Linked DNA regions of Homo sapiens: all the other regions are linked to region 1. The links are contacts of gene promoters, found by promoter capture Hi-C in human tissues and cell types (Jung and others, 2019). All regions are on one chromosome and are shown on one strand. Each heading gives the region's core, a stretch centred on a gene start or on the middle of the fragment in contact. The rest is flanking DNA. Distances are from core to core; before and after follow the strand shown. Region 1 holds the start of ADAMTS5 (ADAM metallopeptidase with thrombospondin type 1 motif 5). Region 2 overlaps LOC102724355 (a long non-coding RNA gene). Region 3 has its middle 170 kb from the start of ADAMTS5. Region 4 has its middle 140 kb from the start of ADAMTS5. Region 5 overlaps ADAMTS1 (ADAM metallopeptidase with thrombospondin type 1 motif 1).

Region 1 (4,773 bases), core at 595-3,094:
AACGGCTAATGCAAGGCTCAAAGGCCTTGGTGGGATAGAGAAAATGGCTGGAACCTCCTATTCTGACCCATCCAGCTGTTAGCATTGGCCTGGGTCAACTGGCCACTGAGAGGCTGAGGCATTGTGGAATTATAAAGCAATGGCCTTCAGCAATAGTAACTTCCTCCCTGGTCCTGATGTATTTCAGAATCTATCAGGGGCTGTTGGGTGTCCCTAAGGCCCCAGTGATTTCTTTATTTATAAGTTAAAACAAGATGATACATCTGCCCCTCACAAGACTCCAGAGGGTGTTCCCAGGCACACGGCAATGGGTATTGTTGCCGGGCAATTCTGAAATTCCTTCCAGAGGATTATTGCCACTCTAAGAACCTCCATCAAGCTCTGGACCCTCATGGTTCCCTCCCAGAGAAAGCGATCAGCTTGGGGCCCCATTAAGGCACCCGCCCTGCTATCCCCAGCGTAGCCAAAGTTAAACGTAGAAAAAGATGGAAATGTACAAATTACACCACATTCATTTTTCACTGGTGCATTAGTTAATTAGCCTGAAGAATAATTTGGGCATGGAGGGAGCTCTTACCCCTACAGTAGAAGGTAGACCTTCTAACCATAAGTCGTCGGGTTTTCCTTCTCCCTTCTTAGAATGATAATTAGAGGAAACAAAGAGGTCAGAGGAAACGAGTAGCAGTGATAATGTCACCCGCGTACTAATAAGCACCAATCTTCCTTCCGCCAAAAGTATTCTTTTTCTTCTAAAAGGAATTTCTGAGAATGAAGGTAGGTCAAGGCCTATGGCGATAAGTGGTTGCTTTAGAAGAGACAAAAACAGATATAGGAATTTATTATTAAAGTATCATTTAAGCAAAAAATAAAAGTATGAGCGCAAAATTTTAAAATCTTTCAGGGAAAAAAAATGAGCGGAATTCCCTCTAAGAGTTAACTCTTTCTCGCTCTGCCTTTTTAGAGCAAAGGAAGTTCCAGTGGGCTGGGAGTAAGGGACAGATTGTGGACCCTGACGAAAGGCGTGCTGGAGAAAGCTGGGAGCCCGCCGTTCGCACACAAAGCTGCGGAGTTCCCAAGCGGCGGGCGTTCTCGCCCCGGGGTACCGCAGCGCGCCAGGAAGCGCCCTGGGCTCTCTGGCTGTCCAGCCGCTCTGCTGGTGGCCGGGAGAAGTTAGTCACCCGGAGCCCGAATCCGGCGAGCGTCAAAGCATCAAGAGGCTGGAGAATGGGGAGGGAGGAAACCGGGTGCCGGGACGGAGGGGAGGAAGCGAAGGGAACGCGGTGGTTAGGGGACGCACGGGAAGCTGAAAAGCTCTGGCTGGTGGATGGAGTTGCACGGTCTGCGAGGCCAGAGCGCACGGGTGTGCAAAGGGGAAAAACTTGCGGCAGGAACTTCCCACCGAGGGCGAGAAAAGCAGGCAAGAAGGAGGCAGGGAGAGACTTGAAACGTCTCAATAACTTTAACCAAAACACCCGTTCAGGAGATGAGGTAAGCCAAGGTTAGCCAACCCCAATTGGTTGTGAAATATCAGACAGACCCGGAGCCGCTGTGGCTTTAAAAGTGGCCAAGGAAATCTGTTTTTCTTGCCCCATTACTTTTTATTTTCCCCTCTCCCCTCCTACCACCTCGCCGGGTCCCAGTCCCTTCCTCCTACTTCGTCTCCCTTTCCTCGATCACCCTCCTCTTTTGCCCTCCCCCATCTGATTAGGCGCGGACTGGGAAGGGTGGGAGTGGTGGGGGAAGCTCTCCCTTTAAGAGGCAGCGTGCAGTGACGAACTGTTGAAATTGCCATTGCAGGATGGCATGCCGCTATAAATTCATTGTTCCACCTCCTCGCATCTTCACAGCGCTCGCGCTGCTCTCGGCGCTCGCAGCTGCCGACTGGGGATGACGGCGGGCAGGAGGAGACCGCAGCCGAAGGGACACAGACACGCCGCTTCACCAGCTCGCCTCAGGCTGCCCCCCTGCATTTTTGTTTTAATTTTTACGGCTTTTTCCCCTCTCTTTCTTCCCTTCCTCCTGGTCCCAGCAGAGCCAAGGAAACCCACAAAATAAGAAAGGAAGTGGGCCCCGGAGCTTGGAACCTCCACAGCCGGCTTGTCCAGCGCAGCGCGGGGGCGGGAGGCTGCGCGCACCAGTTGCCAGCCCGGTGCGCGGTACCTTTCCTTACTTTTCTTGAAACAGCGATCGTGCCTGCATTTGGTGGTTTTTTGGTTTTTGTTTTTTTCCTTTTCCCGTATTTGCTGAATCTCCACTATCCGACTTTTTTTTTTTAATCTTTTCTTTCCCCCCCCCCCCACCCCACCTCTTTCTGGAGCACGAATCCAAACATTTTCCCAAGCAACAAAGAAAAGTTCGCACGCTGGCACCGCAGCCCGGACAGGCTGGCGCTGCTGCCGGGCCCCCCTCCCTCCGACACTTGACTCAATCCTGCAAGCAAGTGTGTGTGTGTCCCCATCCCCCGCCCCGTTAACTTCATAGCAAATAACAAATACCCATAAAGTCCCAGTCGCGCAGCCCCTCCCCGCGGGCAGCGCACTATGCTGCTCGGGTGGGCGTCCCTGCTGCTGTGCGCGTTCCGCCTGCCCCTGGCCGCGGTCGGCCCCGCCGCGACACCTGCCCAGGATAAAGCCGGGCAGCCTCCGACTGCTGCAGCAGCCGCCCAGCCCCGCCGGCGGCAGGGGGAGGAGGTGCAGGAGCGAGCCGAGCCTCCCGGCCACCCGCACCCCCTGGCGCAGCGGCGCAGGAGCAAGGGGCTGGTGCAGAACATCGACCAACTCTACTCCGGCGGCGGCAAGGTGGGCTACCTCGTCTACGCGGGCGGCCGGAGGTTCCTCTTGGACCTGGAGCGAGATGGTTCGGTGGGCATTGCTGGCTTCGTGCCCGCAGGAGGCGGGACGAGTGCGCCCTGGCGCCACCGGAGCCACTGCTTCTATCGGGGCACAGTGGACGGTAGTCCCCGCTCTCTGGCTGTCTTTGACCTCTGTGGGGGTCTCGACGGCTTCTTCGCGGTCAAGCACGCGCGCTACACCCTAAAGCCACTGCTGCGCGGACCCTGGGCGGAGGAAGAAAAGGGGCGCGTGTACGGGGATGGGTCCGCACGGATCCTGCACGTCTACACCCGCGAGGGCTTCAGCTTCGAGGCCCTGCCGCCGCGCGCCAGCTGCGAAACCCCCGCGTCCACACCGGAGGCCCACGAGCATGCTCCGGCGCACAGCAACCCGAGCGGACGCGCAGCACTGGCCTCGCAGCTCTTGGACCAGTCCGCTCTCTCGCCCGCTGGGGGCTCAGGACCGCAGACGTGGTGGCGGCGGCGGCGCCGCTCCATCTCCCGGGCCCGCCAGGTGGAGCTGCTTCTGGTGGCTGACGCGTCCATGGCGCGGTTGTATGGCCGGGGCCTGCAGCATTACCTGCTGACCCTGGCCTCCATCGCCAATAGGCTGTACAGCCATGCTAGCATCGAGAACCACATCCGCCTGGCCGTGGTGAAGGTGGTGGTGCTAGGCGACAAGGACAAGAGCCTGGAAGTGAGCAAGAACGCTGCCACCACACTCAAGAACTTTTGCAAGTGGCAGCACCAACACAACCAGCTGGGAGATGACCATGAGGAGCACTACGATGCAGCTATCCTGTTTACTCGGGAGGTAGGTCCAGCCGGGATGCGGGGGTCCCAGCGCTGATATCAGGAGGTAGGTAGAAGGGAATCTTGCTGGTGGCTTTGCTTCTCCCTCAAACCTCCTGCAGCTGTGGATGTGTTTAACTGCTTCTTGCAGGAAATCCAACCAGCCTTCAACTCTGCTCCTGTATTCACGTTAGCCCCGCAGAAATTTTTGCCTTAAATGCCAAGACTTGCTTAGGTGATGATGAAGACCCAGTAGTGCTGCATGTCATCTAGTCTGAGGTGTTGTGGCATAGGAACGTAAACATAAGAAGGCACAAGGATGCTTGGGGAAATGATACAGTTAAATGGGGAAAAGGAAGGAAAACAAAGTTGCCTTTGGGATCATGGGTCTTCTTCTTTCCAGTGAAAATAAAATATAACCTTGTCCCACCTAATGGAAAGGGCTGGATGGTTCACTCACGGTACTCACTGTTATCCGATGACCTTCTTTTGTAAGTGTCCACACCTTTTTACTAGAATCCCTTCTGTTACACAGAGGATGAGAAAACTTTCTCAAGGACTCTTTTTCCAGGTTGGATTCCTAATGGAGTTCTTACATGTCCACCTTGGAATCTCAGTTCCTGGGAAGGAAGGAATGTGGGCGGGCCAGCAGGGTACAGAGACCCAATCAGATGAGAGGACAAACTTGTGAGGTTCCTTAACAACTCCTTTGCTTAGTCGACCAGTGCGTCGCAAGCACTGCCCAGGCCAACTCCGCCGCCTAGGGAGGGTCACATCCCGTTTGCGTGTTTGGGTTTTGGATGAATATGTTTCCGAAGCCCCAGTGCAGAAGATCTGGGCGAAGAGTCAAGACAGAAGGAAGAAATGTTTTCCCAGCATTTCCCCCTTTTAAGAAAGATGGTTATGGGGAAGCAAAGAAATGGATCTTTAAGGCTCAGAGGCTCAGGGAGGAACGCAGTATCTATTTACACAGTATTTGACCACTACGTTAGTGTGACATTTACACAAAAAGTCTGGGTTGGTTTGGGGCCTGGCTTGCGCATAGTTCTAAGCCTCAGTTGTCACAACTCGACTCTGATTGGCAGTTTTAAGTTGTGCCTCTTAAATGCCTGGTAAGAATTGACTTCTAAAGCTCATTCTTTAAGTATTTG
Region 2 (4,773 bases), core at 1,314-3,813, 220 kb before region 1:
GACAACAGACTTGCACTTTCAAAGTATGTTTGCTTTCAAGAGGCCTCAGAACTCTGAGACTCTTTCCACCCTTCAGGAACCTCACCATTGAATGACTCACTATGGGTGGGGAGTATGGGATATCACCCTTCATAAGCCCACCAATGTGGTCTTGGCAGTTACTTGACTCCCCTGACAAAATGGGAAATAACACAGGGAAGCCATCATGCTATGTTTTCATGCTACACAGAAACTGTTCTTGCTAAAAATATTACACAGATTTGCAAAGACTTAGAAGTATATAAAACATATTTTGATGCTTTCTCTTTTCATATAGACGTTTGTTTATATTGAGAGTTTATCAAAAAATAGCAGTAATAAACTTAACTTACTGAAAATCAGAGGTATTCTCTAAGACCCCCCAGAGGTATTCTCTAAGACCAAATTCATTCACATTTTAAGATTTTCAATCATATCTTAAATCTTGCCAAAACAATTTGTTATACATAAGGGGAAAGGTCATTTTCCTGAATATGCAGGAAAAAAAAATCACAAAATAATACTGAACTAACCTATCCTCACTTTTAACTTAACTTGAAATAACATCAATAGCTGATTCTGCTTCATGTGTGATTATCAACAACTCATAAAACTGTGACAAGAACAACATTTTTATACTAATTTAATATGTAAGTTCACATTCACATTAAAAAGTCAATTGTAACAGAACTGACTGTAGTCAAGCATATTTTATGTTAATGAAAAAAGGCTAAATGTAAAGTTTCATATTGTTCTCTTGAATTTTTAACAGATTTCTCCAAAATTTGGTACCAACCATAGAGCATGTTTCTTAATGTCTTTTGAAGACTTGAATAGAAAAAAAATAAAATTAACAACTGAATATTCATTTTGATTTTAAGTGGTTGATCAATTACCTTTATGTTTTTCCTATCAAGTAGAGAAATAGTTGAAAGGGCACACGAATCAACATGCATGTGGGGTTGTAGGAGTATCTCATATAATACTGATAAAAGGCAGATCACAAGAAGTGACTTAATTGCATTGCTAATACCATAGCCAATAATTTAATTTACCCCCCAAACTGCTAGCTTCCTCCTCAAGGGCAGTACCCGTCCTGTAGGACTGATGTGAATGTAGAAAGTAAAAGGTTTCAGAAGAGACTAAGCTACGCTTACTGACTTTCTTCGTTTTATTTCAACGAATTGTGAAATAGATACTAATTTTCATTTTACCAATTACATATTTAACCACAATGGTTAAAAAACTGCGAGACACCTGTTATTTTAACCTTGAAACTCCACTTTTCAACAGCACACAGGGACTGTAAGTAGAGAATAACAATATTTGATTTTCCTTTATGAGTAAAGACAGTTAACAGAGATTCCACATTATGAAAAATGGAATTTTATAGCCAGAAAGATCTTAGTGATAACAAATATAAAATAAAGAAACTGAAGCTTAGAAAGGTTAAGTGACTCGCCCAACTTTCCCCAAGCTGATAGTGACAGAAGTAGCATTGAAATACATGCCTCTTGAACTACATATTTTATTGAATGGCTTACCTTACCTTAACTTTCACATCAACTGCTCCACTGACTTATTCATTAGGGGAAAAAGACATTCCTGGGCTTTTAGAATAATCTCTTTGTGGAGCTGATTCACTTTTGGCCATATTTCTTTATAACCACAGCATGTTCATACTTTACAGAGTTCCGATGGGCTGGGTTCCAAAGAGTGTTAGGAACATAGGCAAATGGGACTTGCCAAACTGACTGCTCTTAATGGCCACTTCCAAGAGAGCTTCAGGCCATTAAAAGTCACCTATTCTGTTTTGTTGGGCACACAGCCAGTTAGTTCCACAGCTAGTGTTGTATTGAAACCCAGGGCCTAGCTGATACTTTAGGAAATTTTCCTTTTTTCTTTTCTCATTCCACTTCTCCACTCTAGAAATAAACTTCAAATTACAGACTGATTGTAAAGAATCACTCAATAAAATAATTAATTTAAAGGCCATAGCCTTTTATTCACTTATTATAGATAATAACTTCCTAGTCTACATTTCATTACAGCAAAAAAAGGTAAGCACAAAAACGACTGTTTATACCTGTGCAATAAGTTTGTGTGTGTGTACATGTAAGCATGTGCATGCATGTGGGGTGTGTCGATCATGAAACAGCAAGCAAATAAAACTTACACTTCAGGGGTGCTCATTTGAGTAGGTCCTTTCCAGCGCCCCGGGAGAGGGTCAGCAGCGGGTTCACATGACCATGAAGTGGGTTCACATAACCACATGTTTTTAAAAGATTCACAAAAGTAAGTTACTTTTACTGTAGTTGGTTAAGAGGGCCATGTCTTTTCACTCTCACTTAATCTTCGTCACACTTCACCTGGCATAGAATGTTGTCAAAGTGATTGCAGGAATACTTGAGATCCATCAAGAGGAAGTTGAATAGGGGATACACTTAGTTCTGGTTTAGTGTGCCTCCCAGTCACTGCCACATATAGTCAAGCTAGGCGAGTCAGTGACAGGTCTAGAATACTAACCAAAGTTTTCTGATTTTAATAGTAATGATCTTTACACTGTAGGACAGAGATAAGCAAACATTTTCTGTATTTACCAACTAGTAAATATTCTAGGCTTTGTGAGCCACATATGAGATGTCGTATGTTCTTTAAAAAAAAAAAATCTTTCTTTAAAATATTCAAGGCCGGGCGCGGTGACTCACGCCTGTAATCCCAGCACTTTGGGAGGCTGAGGCGGGCAGATCATGAGGTCAGGAGATCGAGACCATCCTGGCTAACACGGTGAAACCCCGTCTCTACTAAAAATACAAAACAAAATTAGCCGGGCGTGGTGGCGGGCACCTGTAGTCCCAGCTACTCGGGAGGCTGAGGCAGGAGAATGGCGTGAACCTGGGGGGGCAGAGCTTGCAGTGAGCCGACATGGCACCACTGCACTCCAGCCTGGGCGACAGAGTGAGACTCCATCTCAAAAAAAAAAAAAAAAAAAAAAATTGTCATACATTAGATAAGTGCATATAATTCTTCTGTTTTTGAACTCTGTATTCTGTGTGATTGGTCTATTTGCTGACATTTTCCCCAATATCACAAATCTTATTTACTATAGATTTGTAACAGGTCTTAATAATTGGTGTTATCAATTCTCCAGAGTTTCTTGGCAATTATTTGATCTTTTCAATTTAATATACATTTTAGAATCAGCTGATTAAGTTTAGATTAGGATTGAATTAAAATTATAGATTGATTTGTAATAATTGACAACTTTCCAGAGTCTTGCATCTACAATAAAATATACGGATGTGGTCTATTTCTAGATATATTTAGGTCTTCTTAAGTTTATTTAAATAAGATGGTATAGCATTGATTGTAGAAATCTTTGGCATCATTTTAAAATTTGCATCTATGTATTTAATATTCTCTTTCATTTTCTGTACAGTGTTGGTTTATAGAAATGGAAATGTTGTATATTATTATTACATTCTGATACTTTACTAAATTTACTCATTAATTCTAATATAGTTTTGAAATTAGATTTTCCAGGTACACAATAATAGTCTGCAATCAATTAAAACTATTACTTCATTTTCAATCTTTATATAGTTTCTCTCTAGTATAATGTTGATGAAAAGTGATATTAGAAATTGTCAATCTTTCTTCTCCAATCTCAGGTGGAAAGTTTTCAATAAGGGATGATAAGGTTAATGCTGGCTACAAAGTTTTCTGTAGATACTGTTCATCACTTCCCTTTTATTTCTAGTTTGTAAAGATTTTTTAATCGTAAGTGTGTGTTGAATTTTCTCCCTTGTTATGTTAACATGTGAATTTTATGTTAACATAGTGAATTATTACAACTAATTTTCAAATGTTAAAACATACTTGCTTGACATATTACCATTTTTGAATGTGGCTGGATGCAATGTGCTTAAGATATTTTTATCTATGTTCATTGGAGAAATTGATCTGTAATTTCCCTATATTATAATGTTCTTGTTTTATGCTGATATCAAGGTTATACTGTCCTCATCAAGAGTTGAGAAACGTGGCCAGGCATGGTGGCTCACGCCTGTAATCCCAGTGCTTTGGGGGGCCGAGGGGGGCAGATCACCAGGTCAGGAGATCGAGACCATCCTGACCAACATGGTGAAACCCCGTCCCTACTAAAAATACAAAAATTAGCTGGGTGTGGTGGTGGGCGCCTGTAGTCCCAGCTACTTGGGAGGCTGAGGCAGGAGTATCACTTGAACCCAGGAGGCAGAGATTGCAGTGAGCCGAGATTGCGCCACTGCACTCCAGCCTGATGACAGAGAGAGACTCTATCTCAAAAAAAAAAAAAAAAGAGAGAGTTGAGAAATGTCATTGTCTTTGTTGTCGTCATTATTTGTTATCAGAGATAATCTCTAAAATTGGTGTAATTCCCTCCTCTGAGTATTGGGAAGAATTTACCAGTGAAGCTCTCTAGACCTGGAGTTTATGGGAAAAGTTTTAACAACAGAATCAATTTAATTAATACATAGAGGCATTTAAATAATTTCTTCCATTGTTTTTCATGGTACGTTTGTTTTTGAAGAATTTATTGTTTTTATGTAGTTGTCAAGTCTATTGAAGTAAAGTGGTTAATAATATTTTCTTAATGCTCTTTCAGTATTTGTGAGTTCCTTTTATTCCTGATACTGGTAAACTCTTTTTAGTTCTGATATTGATAAACTCTTTTTAGTTCTGATATTGATAACTGTTTCTTTCTTTCACTCATTA
Region 3 (4,773 bases), core at 1,047-3,546, 170 kb before region 1:
TACCGGTTGGTAAAACAGATACATAAGGGTTTTTTAATAGAAAAAAAGCATTAAAGAGAAAATATGCCCTTAAAACAAGCATTTTAAAAAAAAAAACCTTTTTAGGATTAGCAGTTTTTCTATTTATATCCAAGTCAGAAGTAGCAGATGGAACTCTTTCTAATAACCTGATAATTTTTCCATATCCTACAGGCATTACTTTCTCTCTAAACTTGAATGATAACCACATGAAAAACAGCGCCCAATTTCAGGCCCATTTCATTGGAATGCTGAAGCTGAGTCCATTGACATATATCAAGGACACATTTCTCAGGTCTTTCATGTACATGATCTTATTTATTCCACCAAAAAAAAAAAAGCCAAACAAACTTGTGAGATATTACAAGTGGAGTTCAGAAAACTTGCGGCTCCTTCAAAGTTACATAACCTATAAATGGCAAAGTTGGGTTCTGAAATGAGATCTGCTAATTCAACATTTTCCTACTTATTTTGCTGAAGAAATCTCTTTTCATAGAACACTTGCAAACATCTTGCGGGACCTGTTTCCTACAGACAACGGTTTGGAAAGCATTATTCTAATTCCAATTCCAATCAACTTCCCATTAAACCACAGATGTCCTCCTAAACAAGCTATGTGATTAAACTATATTTAAAACAGCATAGAAATTCAGGCTATCAAAATTAAATTAGTCTCAGCATTCCATTTTGTTACTTTAGGTGAAGGACAGAGTTAAAAGGATTACTTCAGAAATGTCCATATTTAAACATCCTTAGCTATTTTTATTCCAAACATACTAACTTTCATAATTTGATTCAGAAGGAACTAGTTCTTACATATCTAATTCATGAACACTTTAAAAAAAATTATCTCCTCAGTTACCTCTCTGTTCCCTTAACCACTAGGACCAGATGGTATGGCTGGCAGCCAAGACTAACATGCATCTTTACAAATGTACACAAGATGGGGAAGAGATGATAGTCAATACCGTAATCTTAGCATTGTAGTGTCAGAAAACAAGTTCATGAGGGAACACACAAGGACAACAAGAACACAAAACCTAATTTATTTGCATACTTTTCCATGTAAATTAATGGAACCTGCCTGAGTTCAGGGCAGGCCTATTGACTTAGGTACCTTCAGATTTTGGCACTTACTGTGAAACTCTACTTACGTAGAGTTGACTAAATGTAACGTAGTGTTTTAAGTGCTTTCCACTTTGTAATTTATTAATATATCCGGGCATTGAAGTAGGTTGTATTATTACCACTTTTTGACAAGTAAGAATATTAGGACCCAGAATACTAAGTAACTTGACCAACATTGCATGATTAGCAAACAGTTGAGTCTGATTTGAACAACAGCCATCTGAAGCTGGACTCTGCTCTCATCCATAGCCACCAAACTGCCTTCCAAGACCTCCAGGAAGTCACTCACACCTTTCTAGTTGTTAATCTCTCCCTTTTCAGAATTCAGATAGATGTTTCTTAAGCTCACACTCTCTCTCTCTCTCTCTCTCTCTCTCTCTCCTGTTTTCTCTAGATCTCAAACTTTTTTTTTCTTTTTTGGAGCAGACTGACCAATTTCCTTTTATGTATTTAGCCTGAGCATTATCTCTCATTTAATATGTCATGAATGAATGGGAGAAGGAGTAGAACTAGAAAGCATGCCTTCATCATCCTCTCAATGCTTAAAAGGAATTTTCTCTTTGCATAGTGAGTTCAGAAGGACAATAGAGCTGACAAATGCAAATAAAAGGACCTATGCAAGCTTTTCCAATTTGTGTAAATATTTCATGTTACATGGACCAAAGCAATCATAATAAAACCAATTCGATTGATACATTCAGGCATTAGCCTTCTTTTAGTTGACTTAATTCTCTTTTTTTCTTGATGCCTTAGTACTTTTGAAGCCAGATTTGTCCTTCATAGCCTGAGGATTAATTTTTGCATTGGGAATACCATAACTAAATACTCAAGAATCTAGAAATAGAGGCAGAAAATCTTAAAATTATTGTATACAAGCCTGGATGTCAACATTTCAATGTTATTTCTTTGTTCCATGAGGATTCCAGTATAGGAAGACCCTCAGTGATAGCCTTCCTTCCTGTGAACAGTGAGGTATATTCCACTAATCTTTTAAATCTAACCCATAGGCAACTATCTTGGTATTCTGCTCTGATTGAAGTATTTCCTTAGTCTGCTCAGCACTTTCCCAGTGGCCTTTCCCTAGGGGCTCATAACTTCAAGGCTGTGACTCTCTAGAGCAACTGGTACTCAGTCCCCTTGTTTTCTATTTCTGTGAAGCATCTTATCAAATAGTTTAAGGAAGATATTTTCAGAGATATTAGCATGTCGCTAGTTCCCTGGAAATAAAGGACACTTTAAGTGTGGAGAAGAAAAGCTGCTCATCTTTATTTCAAGGTTACGTGCAGAGATGCAACTCACCGACATTCTGACAAAAGATATTCTGAAAATAAAAGATCAATCACCTTAAATGTGGCCAAGAAATTCCTGCTGTTTGGCTTTCACAGTAAGTGCCAAAATCTAAAGGGGCCTATGGCTTCAGTAGGAAAAAAGAAAGACACATGCATTTTATATGTGACTATGGATCCACTGTGTGCAGAATGTCAAGACTTGGGACAAATGCATTCAGTTATAAAAATGCATTCTTTTGTTTCTCTACACTACAGCCTTGGAGATAACAATGCTTTATTTTTGTTTGTTTTACATTTTGTTTTATTTTTTCCTTCTGAGCCAGTATTTACTGAGTGTTTTTACTGAGCTGGGCACTTCACCCAGATTTCTTATTTAATCCTCACAGCAGTGTTCTGAGACAGTCATTCCCATCACCATCCTCGTTACATTACAGACAAGATAACAGATTTCAAAAGGTTAAATAACTTGTCCAAGGCCACACAATTAGTACTGATCCTGCTGAACTTCAGAGTCTATCAGCTCAGCACCATGTTATGCTGCTCTCAAGGCCCTACTTTGGGACTTAAAATCATTCATTCTTTCTCTCCCCAGAAACTCCCTGGAAGCTCAAGGTGTTCTTCATCCCACTCCTGTCTACTCCTCACGGCCACTTCAGCCTTGTTGCTTCCAGGACCTCAGTGCTTACCACAGCAGCTGTTGCTGCCAGAGTGCCAAAGTAGAAGGAATGTTTTCCCTTGAGTGATTTCAGATCTATGCTTAAGGCTGCCCACATTCCCCACAGGTCCCTCCAAGTAAAATGGTTTCTTCAATTTCGCAATCACCATTCTCAAACATACACACAACATATGACCAGCTTCTCAGGACAAGTAATCATAATGTTATTATTGAGTGCTTGCCATATGACATTATTTTGTTTAATGTTCCAAGCAACTCTGTAAGTTATTTTACATACTAGGAAAGAGCGGGCTGAGAAATGAGAGCAGAAATGGAATATGACCTTATTTTGTACTCAATAAAAGCACCTTTCCATTGATTAAAGCCTGGTATTTCCTGTTGGGGATACATTTTCTGCTGACACCTCCCACAGGCTGAGTGCCTGTTTTCCCAGGACGCTTGTCTTCCTCAGAAGTCAACATAAACATTGTTTTCTTCAAGGGTGTCATGTTAATTTTTCAGGAGCCGGCTCTCTGGACCTTCCTAAAAATTAAGCCTATAAAGACCATCTCCTGATAATACAGGGAGCTACTGAATATCGTAAAATGTATTTATATAGTATCTCCAACATCATAGAACTCGACTACATTGTTCTCAAGTGGATCCCAGATTTTTATATGACCTTGCTGATATAGTTATCAAAACTAGCCAGATGCCTTGCTGTTGAGTTTCTGCTTGCTAATCAACTTTTTCATGTTCAGTTTGATTTCCCAAATACCTTAACTATGAGGGAAGTAGCCTAATGGTGAATGGGAACACTTCAGTCCCTGAAAGGTCTAGCCTTATTGGCATTCTATGTTGGGGTTTTGAAGATGTTAATTTTACATCACTTTCGTATATTTGACCGAATCTTTATATCACATTTTATTATATATTAATATTTCATTTTTAACTTACTCTCTTTTTTTTAACTTATATACATACAGCCAAGGGAAAAAAACAAACAAACTTTGGGCAACTACCTAACAGATCATTTTTTGTGACAGTTATATTTTTAAAATACATATTTAATACTTAAATACATTTTTTGAAATGTTTATTAATATACCATCTGAAATCATTCTAGGAACCACCAGTTGGCTGTAAGTACATATGGCAAAACACAGTTAAAGCCTATAAATTAGAAATTAATCCCTTACTTTATGAACTAGTATCAGGTAGCTATCAATAACTTAATGAATTCTAGATTTTTTGGCCAAATTTTGTTTATGCTTATGAAAAGTTTAGGTGTAGAGTCTTACTATAGTTAAGCCAAAAGTGAACAGTCATCCCTCCATGATATTTTCATCTCTCTTTTCTCAATTTTATTGAGTTGTTTTCTTACTTAAGCTTTGAAAATGTTTTTCAATGTCTATACTGTAAGGAAGAACCATCCAAGCTACTTTACTTCTTACGTCTCTTCCCTAACTATCACAGTTTGTATTTTCTCTTATAACTATTCCAACTAATCTGCTATTCAATTACATTTCACATTGTCTCTAATTTCCATGCAATTTTTCGCATGTATCAATCTTTATTTTTAAAAATAGTATCTTTCTGATTTTATGCAGAATAAAATTATTTAGTGTATGCTTTGACAAACCAAACATAAACCTGAAAGATAGCAAGCATATATGTTTACCT
Region 4 (4,773 bases), core at 1,279-3,778, 140 kb before region 1:
CAAGAGCCATTCCATTTAAGGATTAAGTGGTAAAAACAGAAAGTAAATCCTCTAAGTGTGGTTAATATCCTCTGTTCTCTTGATTGTTTTTGGTAATGTGCGTAAATAATTTCTGTAATAGGCCATACTTCTTAATGCAAGGAAAAAGTGGTATATCTGGTTACTTAACCTACTCCTCCATGGATGAAAAGAGGGAGAAGAAGCAGTCATCCCTGCCGAGTGCATCTATGTGAATTGCACCACTGAGTTGTGCAGTGCTCAACCTGGGCAGCCTTTTGGGCAACCTTGTAAAGAAAGTTCACAAGTCCATAAGGCCAGCATTATTTCTAAGATAGAGATTACTCGGTTTACAGTTGAGGAGACCAATATCCTGAAAAGGCTGAATGATTTATTTGACCCAAAGAAAGAGAGTAGGGAATAGCCCAGGTCTTCTAATTCTTGTCCTGACATGATTTTGTGACTAAATCTTCGGAGAAAAGGAAATTTAATGAGGTGACATGTATTAGTAAAACATGCAATAGGGATTAGAATTAGCTGTTAAAGAGAGGGAATGTCCTGTTTTTCAAGTATACTTTTGATCTATTGTAGTTTATATATATATATATAATAAATATACAGTTTATAATTTTATATTCCCAAGTCTTCAGGATCTACCACAGATTAATGTTTTATTGATGTCAGATTCAACATCAAACTAATTGAACTACAGGAATATGAAAGAATTAACAAAACATTGAACAGAAGAAACAAAAATACAAGGTAGCCCAGTTCAATTAACTTGCTCAGGAAAATAAACTTCATTAGAGCATTTAGCATAGGGGAGTTTGGAACCATTAATACAAATAATAATCATGAAAGTAGTAAAAATGCCTACTAATAATTAAACGCAAACCCAGATTGAATGTTCATTTATTACCTAGCATGGAGCTTTAAGTACATTGTTTTACACAATCACTTGGAGAAACCCGCGAGATGTAGATTATTATTACCCTTCTTTAATAAAGAAGAAATGAAAGCAAAAAGTTATGTGTGTGTTGGGGGGGTCATTTCAATTTGATCTACATTTATTGAATGTCTACTACAATACCAACTTTATGTTCACTATTGTGTGAGACAAAGATAAATGAGACAGATCCTCAAGTGATTTGAAGCCTAGTGGTTTAAAAAGCTATGCACATAATTATAGGACTGTGGAATTAATTTATTCACATTCTCACAATCTCCCTTTATTACAGAAAATGGATGATCTGAATATAAAAACTAAATGAATTATAGTTAAGCCTGATGATAGTTAGAGAAATAAGTAAAATTAATGAACCCATTAAAGGCAAGATTTAGAGAAAATTCCACTGGTGCTTTAAATTAAAGCATGCTAATAATTACCCTTTTCTCCTCACACAAAGAAGCAGAAAGAAAAAAATGAAAAAAGGGAAAATTAAGATGTTAATTTCTCTTAAAGTCATTTCCTATTCCATTACCCAAGAAAAGTTATTAAATAAATGGAAAGCAGACCTAAAGAGGGAGTTTAGGACACATTATATTGAGAAAAACCAGTTTAGTCACCAGTTTGCAGTATCACATATCCTCTAAAAGGTGAGTGTTTGATGACTGATGATGACTACTGAGAAATCCTCTTTGACTGACTTGAGACTGTAAGTCTCAAAAAGGTGATTGAGGAGGGAAATGACTCCAGGTTGAACTCTGTATTCTATTTCAGCTTAGAGTTGCATATATCTGATGATTATTCCTGAGTTCTTAAATGTCTAGGAAAACATTGGCATCTTGGGCTTAGGGCACTTACCACTTTTTGACAGTAGGATAAGAGCCTGTCCAATGTGAATCAATCATCAACAGCCTTAACAATCTTGTTCCATTACCTCGTTGCTTTTGATATTTACTGAGGGTGAGACAACTTTACAACTTTTTTAACTGGGTTATTTTAAGGCTGTATTACTAATTTTGGAAAAAGCAAAGCATGTGCATAAAAAAGTGGAGAACACTGAAATAGGATTGCAATAATACTAGTGAATAGCAGGATCTTTTTTATTCAAGGGAGAAAAATTTGGCTGACTCACTAATTGTTTCAGTTAATGTATGCTGTCATAGCTAAACTTTTTATTTAGCTAGCTTGACTAATTAAAATGTATGTTTTATTTAGATAATCTCATTTATAACTGAGTAGATGAAGCTTATTGCAGTTAATAGCAAATAGCAAGAATGGCAGTTACTGTTTTAGATCAGTGGTTTTCAAAGTGTGGTTCCTGGACCAGCAATACCAGCATCACCTGGGAATTTGCTAGAAATTTCCAGTTCTACCCCAGCCCTTCTGTATCAGATATACCAGGGAGGAAGTTTGGAATATGTGTTTTAACAAGCTAGCCAGGTGACTTACACGTATGCTAAAATTTAGGAACCACTGTTTTAGACATTAAACTTTAGAGCTCAGAATTGCAAATTCAAATGCTCTGAAAGACCAGGAAGGGTAAACAAATTATCTTGTAAAAAACAATTAAATGGTTAGGCCAGTGGCTCTCTGGAATGTCAGGCCCCATTTAAAAGCACTCACATTCATATTTTGTAAACTTCTATGTTGGTCAAACAAATCATAATTGTGGGCTGAATTTGACCTACCGACCCTTAGTTTGAAAGGCTGGTTCTAACAGCATAAGAATTTAGCAAAAACAGTTTTGTAAAAGATTTACAGTTTTAAGAAAGTTTTATTACAATTTACAAAAAATATATATATATTTTATTTGTAGTTTACCATCCTGGAATGCACCGTGGAAGCTTATTTCATTCCTCAAAACTTTCAAAGCTGTTGATGCCCAGCTGATATTTACAGTGGTTGCATGGTCTGGTGATTACAAAGAAACAGAGGAAATGATGGCTTTAATAACCTGTGCATGACATGATTGCTCTAAAAGGACATAATTTTTGGAGGTCAGTGGAAAATAAAATGTGAAGTGTCCAATCCATTGTCCGATCAAATCTCTCTGAAGAAACATGGGTTCAAGGGAAAAATAAATAAGCTTTTCAAGATGGTGACAGCAGAGTGAGGTCTTTCTGAACACAGGACCTGGATGCACATCTGTGAAGTCAGCCCTGGGTCCAGTGGTCTTTCATCTACCTCCTGTGTATCCTGTTTATCTACACCAGCTATATATCATATTTATCTATACCAAAATTAATGGGCAAGAACTAGGGAAATGGTTGCAGAAAGGTCAACTAAAACAACAATTTTATACTATGAGATATATGATAATGTTGCTTGGAGCTTAAAGAAAGACTCCAAAAACAATAATGAACATGAAACATAAAATATAGCTTAACACTTACTTCTAATAAGACTTGCTCTTAGTAATATTTATGTATAGACTACTTCAGGATAGGAACTTCCCTATTCTCAACCATTTCTGTGATGTGATTGATACTAACCTATACAGCATTATGCTGAGAATGGTATTTAGTAATCGAATTTTCTAAATGAATTAATTAAAATTTTTGGAAGCTAATATAAAATTTTCAGGCTATGTCAAGGTCACAGATATCGCTGACGAAAAGTCAATGCATGTTCCAGATTTCTTAAATGTTTCTCAAAATATAGTGTTTGGGAGGAAAAACTATCAAGGGACCACCCCTCATTTAGGCAAAATAACCACGTGCCTACTTAATGAGATTTAAAGAAACATTTTTAACAGACTCACTATAACTTCAGTGTGAGACATAGCTTTGCATGTTGCCTGAAATTTCATTCATGGTAGGACCACTAATTTGATCAAGACAATGCATTGTCAACAAAGAAATACACCTGACTTTACACTGTTAGGTCAAAACATTATTTTAGAACTGTCAAACCACTGATTTTGCAATAGCGTATCACCGTTCTTAGGGCAAAATCCAAACATCTTACAATGGCTTTAAGACATTTTTATAAGTAGGATCCTCCCCACTTTTTCATCCTATCTCATATAATTTGATCACATGTAGACCATTCTCTGGACACATTTCTTGCAACAGGTTGAGCCTTGTTCACCCCTGACTTTAAATGCAACTGGTTTTTATCAGATTTTTAAATCTAAGCAGAATAATATCTGAGAGAGACCTTCTCTGACCTTCCTGTCTAATACACTGCCTCCATCACCCACCACCAAATCTAGTAACTCCCCATCATCTCCATGGTTACCTCCTTCAAGGCAACCATCACAATTAGTGAATCTCTTTTATTTTTATTTGGCTACTTATTTATAAAGAATATAAACTTATTTGAGTCAGGGATCTACCGTCTCGTATATTCCTACATCCTCAATGCCTACAGTAGTGTCTAACCCAGAGTAGACATTGAATATATATTGGTAAGTGCTGAGTGAATGAATGGTGAATAAAATATCAGAAAGTTATATTTGAGTGGTTCTTTGGAGGGGAAGTTGAAAGTGAAGAGATGTAGGTGAAAGGGAATCATGGAAAGAAAAACTTGGGAGACATTCTATATCCAGAGGCAACATTGTTAAGGAAGAAAAAAATCTCAGTAAGACTTTCTAAAAGAAGGGCCTGGGATAGCGATGGAACAGCCGGCAGAGACCTTTGGAGAGAAGGAACATTAAAAAGCACAATTGAGAGGAAGCTAAAATGATTGATCTTCCTCACAATGTTTTTATGAGCTCAGCCTTATTAAAGTATGACAGTGTTTCTGAGAAAGCATTTTCAAACTACCTTTTCATGTTCAGAGTGTGAATAACATATTTTCTTTTTTTTCCCTCATTTATTTGTTTAAGT
Region 5 (4,773 bases), core at 4-2,503, 130 kb after region 1:
TGCCGAGACATTAATGGACAGCCTGCTTCCGAGTGTGCAAAGGAAGTGAAGCCAGCCAGCACCAGACCTTGTGCAGACCATCCCTGCCCCCAGTGGCAGCTGGGGGAGTGGTCATCATGTTCTAAGACCTGTGGGAAGGGTTACAAAAAAAGAAGCTTGAAGTGTCTGTCCCATGATGGAGGGGTGTTATCTCATGAGAGCTGTGATCCTTTAAAGAAACCTAAACATTTCATAGACTTTTGCACAATGGCAGAATGCAGTTAAGTGGTTTAAGTGGTGTTAGCTTTGAGGGCAAGGCAAAGTGAGGAAGGGCTGGTGCAGGGAAAGCAAGAAGGCTGGAGGGATCCAGCGTATCTTGCCAGTAACCAGTGAGGTGTATCAGTAAGGTGGGATTATGGGGGTAGATAGAAAAGGAGTTGAATCATCAGAGTAAACTGCCAGTTGCAAATTTGATAGGATAGTTAGTGAGGATTATTAACCTCTGAGCAGTGATATAGCATAATAAAGCCCCGGGCATTATTATTATTATTTCTTTTGTTACATCTATTACAAGTTTAGAAAAAACAAAGCAATTGTCAAAAAAAGTTAGAACTATTACAACCCCTGTTTCCTGGTACTTATCAAATACTTAGTATCATGGGGGTTGGGAAATGAAAAGTAGGAGAAAAGTGAGATTTTACTAAGACCTGTTTTACTTTACCTCACTAACAATGGGGGGAGAAAGGAGTACAAATAGGATCTTTGACCAGCACTGTTTATGGCTGCTATGGTTTCAGAGAATGTTTATACATTATTTCTACCGAGAATTAAAACTTCAGATTGTTCAACATGAGAGAAAGGCTCAGCAACGTGAAATAACGCAAATGGCTTCCTCTTTCCTTTTTTGGACCATCTCAGTCTTTATTTGTGTAATTCATTTTGAGGAAAAAACAACTCCATGTATTTATTCAAGTGCATTAAAGTCTACAATGGAAAAAAAGCAGTGAAGCATTAGATGCTGGTAAAAGCTAGAGGAGACACAATGAGCTTAGTACCTCCAACTTCCTTTCTTTCCTACCATGTAACCCTGCTTTGGGAATATGGATGTAAAGAAGTAACTTGTGTCTCATGAAAATCAGTACAATCACACAAGGAGGATGAAACGCCGGAACAAAAATGAGGTGTGTAGAACAGGGTCCCACAGGTTTGGGGACATTGAGATCACTTGTCTTGTGGTGGGGAGGCTGCTGAGGGGTAGCAGGTCCATCTCCAGCAGCTGGTCCAACAGTCGTATCCTGGTGAATGTCTGTTCAGCTCTTCTGTGAGAATATGATTTTTTCCATATGTATATAGTAAAATATGTTACTATAAATTACATGTACTTTATAAGTATTGGTTTGGGTGTTCCTTCCAAGAAGGACTATAGTTAGTAATAAATGCCTATAATAACATATTTATTTTTATACATTTATTTCTAATGAAAAAAACTTTTAAATTATATCGCTTTTGTGGAAGTGCATATAAAATAGAGTATTTATACAATATATGTTACTAGAAATAAAAGAACACTTTTGGAATGTGTGTGTCTGTTTTTTGAAGTGGGAATTCATTCCTAGGAAGGAAACCTGAGGCACAAATATTGAATCTGAAGACCGAATTATTTTCTTAAATTATTTGGCAATAAGATTTTGTTCTAGAGGAAGGTGAAGCAAGACGGCTGAATAGAAGATTTTTTTCTAATGAGATGTATTTCTTATATCCTTGGTATACATGATTGCTAAAAAGAAAGAAATTTATGATGTCATTTGTTACTAATGTATCTAATAATATACATCAGTGGTTGGCAAACTTCTTTTGTAAAAAGCCAAATGGTAAATATTTGCAACTTTGTCAATCCTGTCAATAACTATCCTGTCAATACCATCTATGTCACAACTGCTCAACTGTGCTGTTGTAGCACAAAACTAGCCATAAAGAATGAGTAAGTGAATGGACATGGCTGTGTTCTAAAAAAACTACTTGCAAAAACAAATAATGGGTCAGATTTGTTCTGCAGATTCAGTTTGCCAACCCTGGTATATACCATAAATTAAATGGAAAGAGCTTTCAGTTCTGGATGCTTTTTGAATTTGTATCTCTTCCTCAATTATATCCCATAAGTAAAAATACGTGAAAGTATTTAGCTATTGAGTAGAAAACAATGACTCATAAATTACATGTAGTAACGTTAGACATACATGGTGAGTTAAACCCTCTAAATGCTTCACTTGCTCATCAGGAATACCTGAGGGGTTTTGGAGAAAACTTGGAAAGCCCAGGCCTTTCTGCATAGTCTTTTTGTAAATCACTGTCTTTTAAATACTAAGTGGCATATCAATAACTAAAAGTTCAGATTCCTTCCAAAGTAACTACACTTCTCCCAGGAAATAGTATTTACTAGAAGACTCAGATTATGTGGTTAACCACAGACATTTTGAACTCTACGTTTTTCTTCTTTTCCTTGAAAGGAGGAGTTTGTGCCCTCTTCTGTTGCAGTTTGATAAAGACACACCCAAGACTGGGAAAAAAAAGAGGTTTAGTGGACTCACAGTTCCACATGGCTAGGGAGGCCTCACAGTCATGGCGGAAGGCAAGATGGAGCAAGTCATGTCTTGCGTGGATGCGGCTGGCAAAGAGAGAGAGCCTGTGCAGGGGAACTCCTCTTTATAAAGCCATCAGATCTGATGAGACTTATCCACTATCACAACAACAGCACAGAAAAGACCCGCCCCCATGATGCATTTACCTCCCACTGCATCCCACAACACACAGGAATTATGGGAACTACAATTCAAGATGAGATTTGGTGGGGACACAGCCAAACCATATCACAGGTATTACAATATAGCATGCTAGTTTTTATGTATAGGTGATAATTTCTAACTTACTCTCAGTTATTCAAAGTGTTCTTCCCCTGAGCAATTGAACATATCATTCTCAGCAGTCAGGTGTACAGGTGCAGAGAATCAAATTAATTTCTGGTTATTTTTTTTTCCTACCTACTAGACTAAAGGACTGAAAGTTAAAGTCATCTTCTCACATTGTGGGAACTAGTCTTGCTCCTCCAGAACTCATTTAAACGCAGAATTTAATCATTCAATTCAGTGGCCTAACTTGCCACTTGCAACAACAACCTCTCACAATAAATTATTTGTCTACATTAGTGCAGTACAAATCCCCACAGTAAGTGACATGGAGGATATACATGAGAAATGCCCTGACCCTCATTAACTATACATGCCATTTGAGAAAATGAGATATATAAATCTAAAATGATAGCTCATAAGATTAAAAAGTCACTTTTAGATCTTGCCTCATTCACCAGAATTCTTTTCTTTTTAATAGCTTAGATTGATTTGATGTAAGTAATGACACTAAACTTCAGGACACTAAGAGATCAAATCAGCCAAAAAATTTCCTATCATCCTCTCAGATCAAGGCAATGTCAGACAACTTTCTGGTGTTGCCACATTGTTTTTCAGCCCTCTGCTGGTGAAATTTTTTTTTCATCAGTAGGCTGAGTAGTTTAAGATACTCTGCTGGCAGAGATTAGCTCAAAACACACATCCTGGTTTTAGAAGATTGATTAACCGCTTGCTTGAAAGAAGGAGAGATTTTGTGCTCTCTCCTGTTACAGGTATAAATGATGAGCTGTGCCTCTGCTGAAAGAAACTTTCCACAGTGGAAAGATCAGGGACTCAAGGCCTGCAGTCTGGTTTCCTTTGTCCCATACGATGCTCCTTTAATGTGATGCACTCCCACACCCCTAAGAGTAGCGGTCCCTGAGGGCCAGACTACCGTGAATACTGCTGCTCCTCTGGGTCTCATCCCCAGTGAGGTTTCCATACTCCATGCTGGTGCTGGTGAATGTTTGCAAGGGATCCAGTGATGTGATCTGTCTGGTCCCCCAGCAGTGGATATCAGTACCAGCTCAGTTGTGGGTGGGAAGGGAGTGACGTAGACCCTGTGAGATTTCCGTGGTTATAAATAGCCTTAGTGTGTTGGCCTTCTCAAATACGGCTGTGGTGGTCATGTACTGGGCACATGGACAGACTCAAGATCTACTGGCTAGCCAGGGTGATGTAGGCAATGGTGATAGTTGAGGTTGTGCAAGTTTTCTCCTTCCTGGGCACTGTGTTATTGTACCTGCAGATGTTGTAATGGGCTGTGCCACTTGGCCTCCAGCCAGGAGGTGGCACTTGCAAAAGAATGCCAACTGTGTTGGTAGTTTTGGGATTCGTGCTTGCCTTATGTTACCATGGGTAGGGGAGTCGGGGGGAAGGGAGTGGCGTACTCTGGTATTTCAGGCAATGTGCAGGGCCATGGAGCTCCCAGGAGTCTCTGTCCATTGTATCACACTACCAGGGCAGATGAAGGGGCAAAGCCAGGTGGGGACTGGGTCAGGCAAGTTTGCTGTTTGGCTCCCCACTTGTGAGTACAAGCAGCAGCCCCAGTGGTGATCAGAGGGCAACTCCCTGCCTGCTGGGGTAATGTTACAGGGAGGAGTATAGCTGCCTCTGCTGTACAAATGAATCCACATGGGGAGTCGGGGGTAGCAGGTGGCAGTAAGCCCCACTCAGCCCCCACACACTTGGCAAGGCAGGTCTCGCATCCACAGTGTTCTACTAGCAGCAGCTAGCTGGGTTCCAGACAGCCTGCACTCAGAATTCCAAACTGCCCCAGGCCAGAAGCATTCTGGGCTGAGAGAGAAACTGCGGCTTTCAGGCCACACCTCTTCTGGTCCTCCAGCAAAGC

What was found. The method cuts DNA at HindIII sites, captures the fragments that hold promoters and counts their contacts. A contact is called where the count stands out against the background at its distance.
Region 2: a fragment that was not itself captured here is called in contact with the fragment with the promoter of ADAMTS5 in region 1 in 4 of the 25 tissues and cell types used here (IMR-90 fibroblasts, mesenchymal stem cells, mesendoderm cells and 1 more).
Region 3: a contact is called between a fragment that was not itself captured here and the fragment with the promoter of ADAMTS5 in region 1, in 2 of the 25 tissues and cell types used here (heart left ventricle and mesendoderm cells).
Region 4: a contact is called between a fragment that was not itself captured here and the fragment with the promoter of ADAMTS5 in region 1, in 8 of the 25 tissues and cell types used here (H1 embryonic stem cells, IMR-90 fibroblasts, aorta and 5 more).
Region 5: a fragment that was not itself captured here is called in contact with the fragment with the promoter of ADAMTS5 in region 1 in 1 of the 25 tissues and cell types used here (H1 embryonic stem cells).

Annotation. Positions count from the first base shown.
Region 1 is chr21:26,964,159-26,968,931 of GRCh38, reverse strand. It overlaps ADAMTS5 (ADAM metallopeptidase with thrombospondin type 1 motif 5), which reads left to right and starts at 1,844. Exons shown (of 8, transcript NM_007038.5): 1 at 1,844-3,644. The coding sequence starts at 2,541. It overlaps LOC124905050, which reads left to right. Exons shown (of 3, transcript XM_047441063.1): 2 at 962-1,488; 3 at 1,848-2,276. The coding sequence ends at 2,276. The HindIII fragment of the contact is 10,779 bases long and covers 1-4,773 here.
Region 2 is chr21:27,187,726-27,192,498 of GRCh38, reverse strand. All of the region lies in intron 2 of LOC102724355 (a long non-coding RNA gene), which reads left to right. Among named protein-coding and RNA genes, the nearest start is that of ADAMTS5, 220 kb to the right of the region's middle. The HindIII fragment of the contact is 7,167 bases long and covers 1-4,773 here.
Region 3 is chr21:27,130,878-27,135,650 of GRCh38, reverse strand. No RefSeq gene overlaps it. Among named protein-coding and RNA genes, the nearest start is that of ADAMTS5, 170 kb to the right of the region's middle. The HindIII fragment of the contact is 5,679 bases long and covers 1-4,773 here.
Region 4 is chr21:27,109,251-27,114,023 of GRCh38, reverse strand. No RefSeq gene overlaps it. Among named protein-coding and RNA genes, the nearest start is that of ADAMTS5, 140 kb to the right of the region's middle. The HindIII fragment of the contact is 3,693 bases long and covers 682-4,374 here.
Region 5 is chr21:26,833,070-26,837,842 of GRCh38, reverse strand. ADAMTS1 (ADAM metallopeptidase with thrombospondin type 1 motif 1) reads left to right here. Exons shown (of 9, transcript NM_006988.5): 9 at 1-2,088. The coding sequence ends at 264. Among named protein-coding and RNA genes, the nearest start is that of ADAMTS1, 10 kb to the left of the region's middle. The HindIII fragment of the contact is 8,671 bases long and covers 1-4,773 here.